Linked DNA regions of Homo sapiens: all the other regions are linked to region 3. Evidence: promoter capture Hi-C in human tissues and cell types (Jung and others, 2019). All regions are on one chromosome and are shown on one strand. Each heading gives the region's core, a stretch centred on a gene start or on the middle of the fragment in contact. The rest is flanking DNA. Distances are from core to core; before and after follow the strand shown. Region 1 overlaps SLC26A9 (solute carrier family 26 member 9). Region 2 has its middle 23 kb from the start of SLC60A1. Region 3 holds the start of SLC45A3 (solute carrier family 45 member 3).

The links. Contacts are between HindIII fragments. The study calls those that stand out against the background at their distance.
Region 1: a fragment that was not itself captured here is called in contact with the fragment with the promoter of SLC45A3 in region 3 in 1 of the 25 tissues and cell types used here (aorta).
Region 2: a contact is called between a fragment that was not itself captured here and the fragment with the promoter of SLC45A3 in region 3, in 1 of the 25 tissues and cell types used here (aorta).

Annotation. Positions count from the first base shown.
Region 1 is chr1:205,921,854-205,925,142 of GRCh38, forward strand. SLC26A9 (solute carrier family 26 member 9) reads right to left here. Exons shown (of 21, transcript NM_052934.4): 13 at 2,530-2,636; 14 at 1,691-1,760; 15 at 1,482-1,574; 16 at 1,229-1,342. Among named protein-coding and RNA genes, the nearest start is that of SLC26A9-AS1, 11 kb to the right of the region's middle. The HindIII fragment of the contact is 3,074 bases long and covers 1-3,002 here.
Region 2 is chr1:205,544,149-205,547,271 of GRCh38, forward strand. No RefSeq gene overlaps it. Among named protein-coding and RNA genes, the nearest start is that of SLC60A1, 23 kb to the right of the region's middle. The HindIII fragment of the contact is 8,375 bases long and covers 1-3,123 here.
Region 3 is chr1:205,678,772-205,681,829 of GRCh38, forward strand. SLC45A3 (solute carrier family 45 member 3) reads right to left here and starts at 1,738. Exons shown (of 5, transcript NM_033102.3): 1 at 1,623-1,738. It overlaps LOC105371701 (a long non-coding RNA gene), which reads left to right and starts at 1,599. Exons shown (of 4, transcript XR_007066825.1): 1 at 1,599-1,728. RefSeq lists a silencer at 1,283-1,502. The HindIII fragment of the contact is 16,856 bases long and covers 1-3,058 here.

The DNA of each region.
Region 1 (3,289 bases), core at 216-2,715, 240 kb after region 3:
GGGTGGGGACAGTGGGCAGAGTCAGGGACCACCAGACTGAGCCAGACCTTGCTGTGACTGAAGCAGGGGCATGGAGGGTGTAGGTGTAGGGGAATAACTCGCCTCGGTGATGGTGAACACAGACCCTGAAAGCTCCACCAGAGAGGCCTCTCCCAAAGCCCTTTCTTAGGCAGGGCCTGCAAACTTGGTCTCCTACAACCCAGACAAAGTCAGAGGACCCAGCCAAGAGAGGCACTGAAGCCTCAAGCCCACTCTCTCTGGGAGAAAGCCCCTCCGGGGACACTGAGCTCCTTTATTTCTTGAGACAGAGTCTCCCTCTGTTGCCTAGGCTGGAGTGCAGTGGCACTATCTCGGCTCACTGCAACCTCTGCCTCCCGGGTTCAAGTGATTCTCGTGCCTCAGCCTCCTGAGTAGCTGGGATTACAGGTGCCCACCACCACGCCTGGCTAATTTTTGTGTATTTTTAGTAGAGACAGCGTTTCGCCACGTTGGGCAGGCTGGTCTCGAACTCCTGAACTCATGAGAGTGATTCTCCCATCTCGGCCTCCTAAAGTGCTGGGATTACAAGGATTACTGCCATGGCCACCCCAGCCTTGCTAGCCCTGGGCTGCCTGGGTTCCCCAGGAAATTCACTGCTGTTCCCCCTCTGGGTTGTTCAAAAGTCCATGGGCCATGTCCTATCTTAGCCAGAAAATGGAGAAGGGCCTTGGGGGTTCAGTGGCTTCCCTGGGAGATGGTAGCACCTCATCCAAGAAGAAAAATGCCCAGGCTGGGCGCAGTGGCTCAGGCTTGTAATCCCAGCACTTTGGAAGGCTAAGGTAGGTGGATCACCTGAGGTCAGGAGTTTGACACCAGCCTGGCCAACATGGTGAAACCCAATATCTACTAAAAATACAAAAATTAGCTGGGTGTGGTGGCACCTGTAATCTCAGCGACTTGGGAGGCTAAGGCAGGAGAATCGCTTGAACCCCAGAGGTGGAGGTTGCAGTGAGCCAAGATAACGCCATTGCACTCAAGCCTGGGTGACAAGAGCAAAATTCCATCTCTAAAAAGAAAAAGAAAAAAAAGAAGAAAAATGCCCAGCGGCCACCAGGCAGTGTTCCCAGAGACTTTCTGTCTTTGCCTGTCAGGGTGGGAAGCGGGGCCCCCAGGGTACCATGAGTAACAGGGGGCAGTATCAGAATGGGCAGGAGAGCAGGGCACGGGGCTGCTTCTGGCCTTCATTCACCTTGGTTTTCATGAATAGAGACCTCCTCTGTTGTGTGGGCCTCATTCTCCGCTTCTCCTGCTTCTTGAGGTATTTTTGCTTGGCTAGTAATACTTTCTGGGGGTCCATGCCTGTCTGCAGGGAGAGAGCCAACAGCAATCTTGACCTCCACCCTCTATGGGAGTGGCCTATTCTCAGCTCCCACCGCCCTTCTGCTTCCATTTTCCGGCCACTCTCTGTCCAGAGCCTCTGGTCGCCAGGGACTGAGCCTTACCTTGGCGATGACCTTTTGCCTGAAGATCTCTGAGTTGGCAAAGTAGAGAGGGGAGCAGTACGTGATGATTTTAATCCCCTGGATATCCTGGGCCTGTGACAGGGAGACTGAGCTCAAGTTGCAGAAATGTCTTTATTGGCTTTAAAAAGCAACCTCTTCTTGGGGTGGTGCAGAGCAAAAGAAGGAGGTCATAAGCTTGAATTACCTACCCTATTATAGGTCTTGGGATTCACATAAATGTCAGTGTCCATGACCTGGGCCAGTGCATAGCCATTTCGACTGGATGAAGCAGGAAGAGAAAAACATAAGAGAATGCTAATGGCACATGGGCCTGGAAGGGTGCCCCTGCTGGGGCGGGGGCAGAGCCAAGGTAGGATGGGGTCCTGTCCTCACCCCCAGACTTGCTGTGTCTGTCTTTTTGCACTGGAGACACATGTCTGGTGGCCTGTGGCCTCCTATAACTATGAGGATGACAGGCAGGTCCTTGACATAGCTCCCAGACCACAGGGCAGGGGAGAGAAGTGGTGGGAGAAGTGGTGGGAGTCGCCCTGAAGTCATCATTTCCTTGTTCTGAGTTCTCAAGAAGAGAAGATAGGATTCCCCCAACATTCAGCGTACTCCCTGCCTGGGCCAAGACCCCTTCTCTGTAATACTCCCAGTGTGTAGAACACAGCTTCTGTCTTCCACCCTGGCGCTCTCCTGGGGTGGGGTCCCATTTGGTTTGGGGTTCTGGCAATGTCTTTGGAAGGATGTTGAATCTCACCACCTGCCCTTGCCCTCCTTTCTCTGCCACTGCCCTCTCCCCAGCCATCCCCAGCAAGAGTATGCTGGCTTTCTCTGGGGTTTTCAAGATATGGGAAGTCAAACAGCCCAGACTGTGCCCACAGTCCTGGCTGGGTTGGGCTCTCTTTGGGCCTGGCAGCACCTCCAGTGCCAGGCCCAGAGGTGGAAGGTACAGTGGACTAAGCCAGGCCGTGGCATGGAAGCCCTTTGCGGGCTGGCCCAGGGAACCGACTGTGGGCCTAGGAGGGCGGAAGCTATCACTTACAACTGAGTCTGGAAGACCACGACCAGGACGGAGAAGGCGACACCCACTGCCACACCATAGGGCAGGCTGAGGAAGAAGGAGGAGAGGAAGCTCACTACCCAGATGCACTGTGAAAAGAGAGATGTCAAAAGCAGACCTGGGGAAAAAACAACCTCTTTCAGGAAGTCTTCCTGGATTAGCCAAGGCCATTCTCTGTTAGTACAACCTCAGAGCCTCTCTTCTCTTTTTTTTCTTTAAATAGCATTTTTTGCAATATTTTATGTATTTGTGCTTTGGTTACACTTTCCTCTTTCCCTTAGATTGACTGTGGTTGCCTGATCTTGTCTGTGTTTTTAGTAGAAGCCCCAGCACACAGGGAGGTGGCATCTATAAGAGCATGCATCTTGGGTCAGATCTGTTTGGGTTCAAAATGTGTTTGTTTGTTTGTTTTTGGAGTCACAGGGTCTTGCTCTGTTGCTCAGGCTGTAGTGCAGTGGCAAGATCAGCTCACTGGAGCCTCAAACCCTTGAACCCAAGTTGTGCTCCCGCCTAACCTTCCTGAATAGTTAGGACTATAGGCACGTGCCACCACACCCAGCTAACTTTTTATTTTTCTAGAGACGGCTCTCGCTAAGCTGCCCAAGCTGACCTTGAAATCCTGACTTCAAGCGATCCTCCTGCCTCAGCCCCCTAAAGTGCTAGATCACAGGTGTGAGTCAGCACACCCAGCCCCAAATTTTGTTCTTTAATGGCTATGTGAAACAAAAGGAGAATAATAATG
Region 2 (3,123 bases), core at 86-2,585, 140 kb before region 3:
CTCCCCCCAGAGGAAATGGAAAGTCAGAATTGTTTTGAAGTGGGTCAGTGTTTGCCAGTGGGTGAGTAATGCTCAGTGCTCCCAGCTCTTTCCTCCCAGAGAAAGCATTCCTCTATGCATCCCTCTCTTTACCACTAGGCTGGGGGTGCCATCTCTCCGAGGTGCCCAGTGCTTTGCGTACATTTCTTCATTGTTTGATTGGTCTTGTGAGAATCAACTCACAGCAAGACCAATAAGCTTGTGTAGTAACCTATTTCTTTAGATGAGGAAACTGAGTTTCACAGAGACTGAGATTGCTCCAGACCACGCAGCTACTTTGTGGCAGAGCTGGGACTGGAACCCAGGTCTGTGACACTCCAAAGTCCATGTTCTGCGACAGAATTTCTCAAGCATTCAGGTGCATAAGTGATGGCTGGGGTGCCAGCCGAGAGTGCAGATTTCTGGGCGCTGTCCCCTCTTCCTCATCCTAATTCAACAAATCAGAGTTGGGGGCAGGAATCTGCATTTTTGACAAATAACAGGTGATTCGGAAGCGGTTGGGGCAAGGTTGAGAAACACTGACTTGGGGCTCTGTTGTTGTTGTTATTGCTTGAGACAGAGTCTTGCTCTGTCGCCCAGGCTGGAGTGCAGTGGCACGATCTTGGCCCATTGCAACCTCCACCTCCCAGGTTCAAGCAGTTCTCCTGCCCCAGCCTCCCAGTTAGCTGGGATTACAGACGTGTGCTACCACGCCTGGCTAATTTTTTTTTATTCTCCAATTTAAAACTTTTAATTAAAAAGTAAACTTCAATGTCAAAAATGCAAACTTGGGGAGGGCAGAAGTATCACCCACAAGGCTGTCACTTCACACTTGGAGGGTTGCACAGCGGCCAGGCAGAGGCACTCCTCACATCCCAGATGGTGGGCGGCGGCCGGGCAGAGGTGCTCCTCACTTCCCAGACAGGGTGGCGGCCAGAAAGAGGCACTCCTCACTTCCCAGACAGGGCGGCGGCCAGAGAGAGGTGCTCCTCACTTGACACGTGGCTAATTTTTGTATTTTTAGTAGGGATGGGGTTTCACCATGTTGAGCAGGCTGGTCTTGAACTCCTGACCTCAGGTGATCCCGCTGCCTCAGCTTCCAAAGTGCTAAGATTACAGGCGTGAGCCACCACGCCCACCCAGGGCTCTGTTTTATGACGTCAGCCAAAAGAGCAGCAACCTGGTCTGAAAACAGGCGCAGGCTAGGGCCCTGCTGAGCCCTCAAGGGGCGGCCCTCTCCCCTCACTCCGCCTTCACCTATAGAGTGAAACCCAAGAGAAGTAGCCCCATCTCTCAGAAGGCAAAGGACCCATCTTCTGCCTAGAAAATCTCCCATTGCACTTTATAACATTTTCAACCCCCAGAGAGAAACCTGAACCACACCGGAACATTTAGTCATCCCTCAGAGGTTTATGGGCCCCTTGCCATGAGTAGGGGTTGGGACAGATACCACTCAGATGGGTGTAAAGCAGGTTTCTCAGAGATGGGTGCATCAGGACCCTCCTGCTTCAGAATTATCTGAGGGTCTGCTAAGAATGCAGAGTCCTGGGCCCTACCCCAGACCTCCAAAGTCAGAATCCCTGGAGGATGAACTCTGGGAATCTGCATTTTAAATACTCTCCTCAAGCAATTCTGTAGCAAGTAGACGTTTGAGAAGTGGTTTCCTGAGAGTCTGGGAAGGAAAGAAACTGGAAACGCTGTAGCTTTGGGTCCTGCGGGTTAAAGACCACAGTAAGACACCCAAACTACATTTGTCAGCCGGGAATCCCTGGAGTGCAGCTGTGGATTTGTGAAAGGAGAGCTGCACATGGCACGTGGAGGTCTGGGTTTGAATCCTGGCTTGGCTACTCTGTGATTCTGGACCAGTGACTTAATCTCACGGAGCTCAATTCCTCACATGCCAAATGGGATACTCTAGTCCACCTCCCAGCATCACCATGAGGACCTAGTGAGCATGCCGCAGCTCCGAATGAACAGCGCGGGCTTGTGCTGCCAGGAGCTCATTCTGCATGATGTGGCTCTAGGCAATGCCATCAATGGGCTCCTAGTAGCCTCAAGCTGGAGCAGACCCACTTCACTCTGCTGGGGAGCCAAGGGCTGGGGTGGGGTGGCTGGTTAGAGTTCAAAATCAGACTCTGGACCCATGGGGTGGCCCAGGGTACCCAAAGAGGGTCAGGGGTCAAGCTGTGCCTCACAAGACCCTGAAAAGGAAAGTGTAACCCTAGCAGGATAGCCTCGTGGTTAAGGGCATAGGCTCTAGAGCCAGAGGGCTCAAATCCTGGCTAGTGTACTTGCTAGCTGAGCGACCTTGGGCCACTTACTTCACCTCTCTGTGCCTCAGTTTTCTTATGTGTAATATGGAGATATAAAAAACATACCCACTTCCCTGACACAGGGGAAAAGTCCTCAAAATATGTCACACAATATTAGCCATTATTGACTATTAATGGAAGGATTTTATGCATGGGGAGTCTTTTAATAGTTGACTTCATAGTTGTCTGTGTCTGTGCAGGGCTGTGTGCCCTCCACATCCAAGTTTCTCCCTGGCTGCCCTAATCTGGAGATAATGCTGAAAATGGAGCCAGATGTCCAAGACTTCCAGCTGGGATTTATCCTCTTGGTAAATCTGCTAGGGTATAAGGATAAGGATGAAAGCAACGACAGCCAGATTAGGAAGTATCTCTATTAGTATCTCTTAAACCAAGGCTGCTTAAGAGAAAGCATAGATGGACATAAAAGGAATTTGACACCTGCTCTTCTCTCTTTTTTTTTTTTTTTTGAGGCAGAGCCTCACTCTGTTGCCCAGGCTGGAGTGCAGTAGCGCAATCCTGGCTCACTGCAACCTTGACATCCCGGGCTCAAGCCATCCTCCCACCCCAGCCTCCTGAGTAGTTACAACTACAGGTGTGCCCCAGCATGCCTGGCTAATTACTTTATTACTTGTAGAGACGGGATCTCGATATGTTGCTCGGGCTACTCTCTAACTCCTGGGCTCAAGGAATCCTCCTGCCTCGGCCTCCCACAGTGCTGGGATTACAGGTGTGAGCCACTGCACACGGCCTGCTCTTCTCTTCCATTTCCTTTAGGTTCAGTGAGGCATGGTGG
Region 3 (3,058 bases), core at 488-2,987:
AGAGTCCTGGCTCCACGACAGGCCTGGTGGGAGGAGATAAGGGAGGAATGAGGGAATGGGACTGATCCAACAGAATGGCCTGCGACCTCAAATTGCGTCCCACTTATCCCCTACAATATGCTGCTCTATGGGTTTCCTCAGGCTTCCCGTCTAGCCTGGGCCTCCTGGGCCCTCCCACTCCCACCCCAATAGGCCAGCCTGTTTCCCAGGCCTCGGGCAGGTGAGTCTACACCAAGGCGGTCTCTGCTCTGAAAGGAGATCTGCTAAGTGCCTCAGGAAAGGTAGTCCGAAGCCCCTAGGACCTCAACCCCACCCCTGAGCAAAGGTTCCAGGACCCCAGCAAGGGTCACTGCGGGCCCTGGTCAACTGGCAATGCCCGGCTGCAGACTCCAGGGCAGCAAGACAGCAGCTGGGCTATTCTTAGTCCCTGCTCCACCGGGACCGGGTCTGTGTAACAGCTGAAGGGCGAGTCCTCACCAGGTACCCACCATGCCAAACCCCTCCCTACCCCCAACTCTGGCCCCTTGGAAAAAGAGGAAGCATAGGGAACACGCCCTGGAGTGGGGAAAAGCTGAGCAGGTCAAGAGTGTCTGTCAGGAAGATGGAGGCTGATTCAGAGGTCAAGGGCAAGAGCAACTCACAGGACTGCAGTGCCTGGGGGGAGCGGAAGACTACAGGAAGGCCTGACCCGCACTAGGGAGAAAGCATGCAGGTCCCTGGGGCTTTTCTAGCAAGCCTGCCTAGGCCCAGAGCTCTGAGAAGCTGCACGGGATGCCTAGGTACCACCACATCACACCTGTTTGCCGTTTGCAGAACTCTGTCCTTCCCCACCTGAGACCTGGGAGGCGAGGAGAAAACAGCGGCCTTTCTCTCCCCACAGAGGGGGAAACTGAGGCTGAAAAGGGGACACAGTAACACACACACACACACACACACACACACACACACACACACGGTCCAGTCCCAACTCTGTACCCAGAGCTCGCCCCAGTTCTAAGTCCAAGAGGGCTCAGTCCCCTTTCCCTGTCTTAATAACTCACTCTTCCTCAAGAAAGCCGGCCTGGGCCTGAGCACCCCGCGGCGCCGCGGCCGTCGGCTCCCGTCCCGGCTCCCCCAAGTCCCGGACTGTGCGCGCCGCAGTGACTCATCCTGCCCCTTTCCGGTGAAGCCCAGACAAGAGAAGAAAATAAACGCAACTTTCCAAAGAAAAGTCTGACACGGGAGGCTGCAACAGGAGCCAGCGGCCGGTCCGCCAGCCGTCGGCCCGGCCCGGTCCGGCCCGGCCCGGGGCTCCGGGGAGGGGCCGCTCCCCGCCCACACCGCCGCCCCGCCTGGGACAGCGCGGGCACCTCCTGCCTGCCCGCCCTCCGCGGAAGAAAGCACAGCTCAGCGGGGACCCGTGCAGGCGCCGGGCACTCGGCACCCGCCCCGGCAGAGCGTGTGGGACGCGCCCTCCTCTGGGATTCGCGCGGGGCTCGGCGCGCAGCGCCCCGGACGGCCACGGCGCAGCCCCATCCCGCGGGGCGCAAAACACGCGACAGCGCGGAGCTCGGCCGTGCACTGCTGCTCCCTTTCCCGCGCCGGGACCCTCACCCCTGGGAGAGGAGGGGGCGCGCTCCTACCTGGCCGAGGCGCGCGGCTGTCACCCGGAGCCAGCGCGTGCAGGCTGGTTCCGCCCCCCCTTCCTTGCCCCCCACGCGCGCCAGCCGGCGGCTTTTAAATCTCCAGGTTACTCCGCGGGGGGAGAGAGCATGCGCGCTGGGACTGCCAGGAGGGGGGCGGGGCGAGGCGGGACGGAGGTGGGGGGTGCTGCGAGGGGGGATAGAGGGGTGGGGCTGGTACCCAGGGGAAGAAAGCGGGAGGTCTCGAAGCTGGCTTTGTAGCCGCGCCGCGACGGGCAGCCCCCGCGTGGCTCCCAGACTGCCCTATCATTACCTAGGGCAGGGCACCGCCCCCTCTGTCGCTCGCCACCAAACATTTAGGTGAAAGCTACCCGGCTTCGCGGGGCACCTCCCCTCCCCTACTCGGAGCCAGTCTGCTGCGACCATTACCCAGGCGTGCCATTCTGGCCACCCGATCTCCAGGCAGAGCTGCTCCCTACCTGTCCAGGACCATCCCTTCAAAGGAGATGTCACATTCTCTCCGAATTACCCTTCTGCTCTTTGCTATTCTCCGACGCAGACAGAGCTAACTCAATCCCTCTTTCTGCGCTGAAAACCAAATTCCAATTTTTTTTCTTCTTAAGAGTGTGTACGGGGAAGAATGGATGATAAATTGCCAATGAAATGTTCTCTTTGTCAGCTGTTGAGCAAGGTCCGAACAGATACCTGTTCCAGAATGTCTTTGATGGAGTCCCAGGCTGGCCCTGGGGTTGGGGGTTGGGGGGCAGTTTTGTCTTTTTTTCCTCCATGGAGTTTTATTGGGTGGAGAGAAATCCAATTTAGTTGGATTGTTGACTTGAATACTACAAAGTCCCAGGAAGATGCCTTCGAAGGGGAAGACCTGGTTGGCCTTAGCCAACCAGGCACTGGGGCACTGGGTTCCAATGCTGGCCCTGTGTCAACAGCCGTATAACGTGGGCCAAGTCCCTTCCATGTTCTGGGCCTCTGTAAGAGGGGGTGAGCCAAATGATTTCTAAGGGCACCTTCCAGCTGAGAGGTAGAAGGAGGCAGAGAAGAAAGGGAGATAGAGAAGGGAGAGGAAATAGTGGCGCCCTGGTGGTAGTGGGGAACAGAGAGCAGGTGCCAGAGAGAGTTGAGAAGAGAAAAATCAAGAATCTACCTTCTGAGTCACTAAACAAGTTTAACTTGAAAACTGTCTCAGCGTTGCCTCCCTGGAGCAGACACACCTCTACCTGGGGACCCTCCTGGAGATGGCTTTCCAAAGTCTTTGGCATACCCTCTCGTGGCAAGCAGAGAGACTAGGGTGGAGTCCAGGGTCTCTGAGCTGGTGTCCCCTCTCCTCCAGGAAAGAGGTCAGGAGTCAGGGGAAATTTCAGGTCAGCTGGAAAATTACAGAGCCAGGAGAGAGTGGACGGTGGTATTTTGCAGGCTTGGGA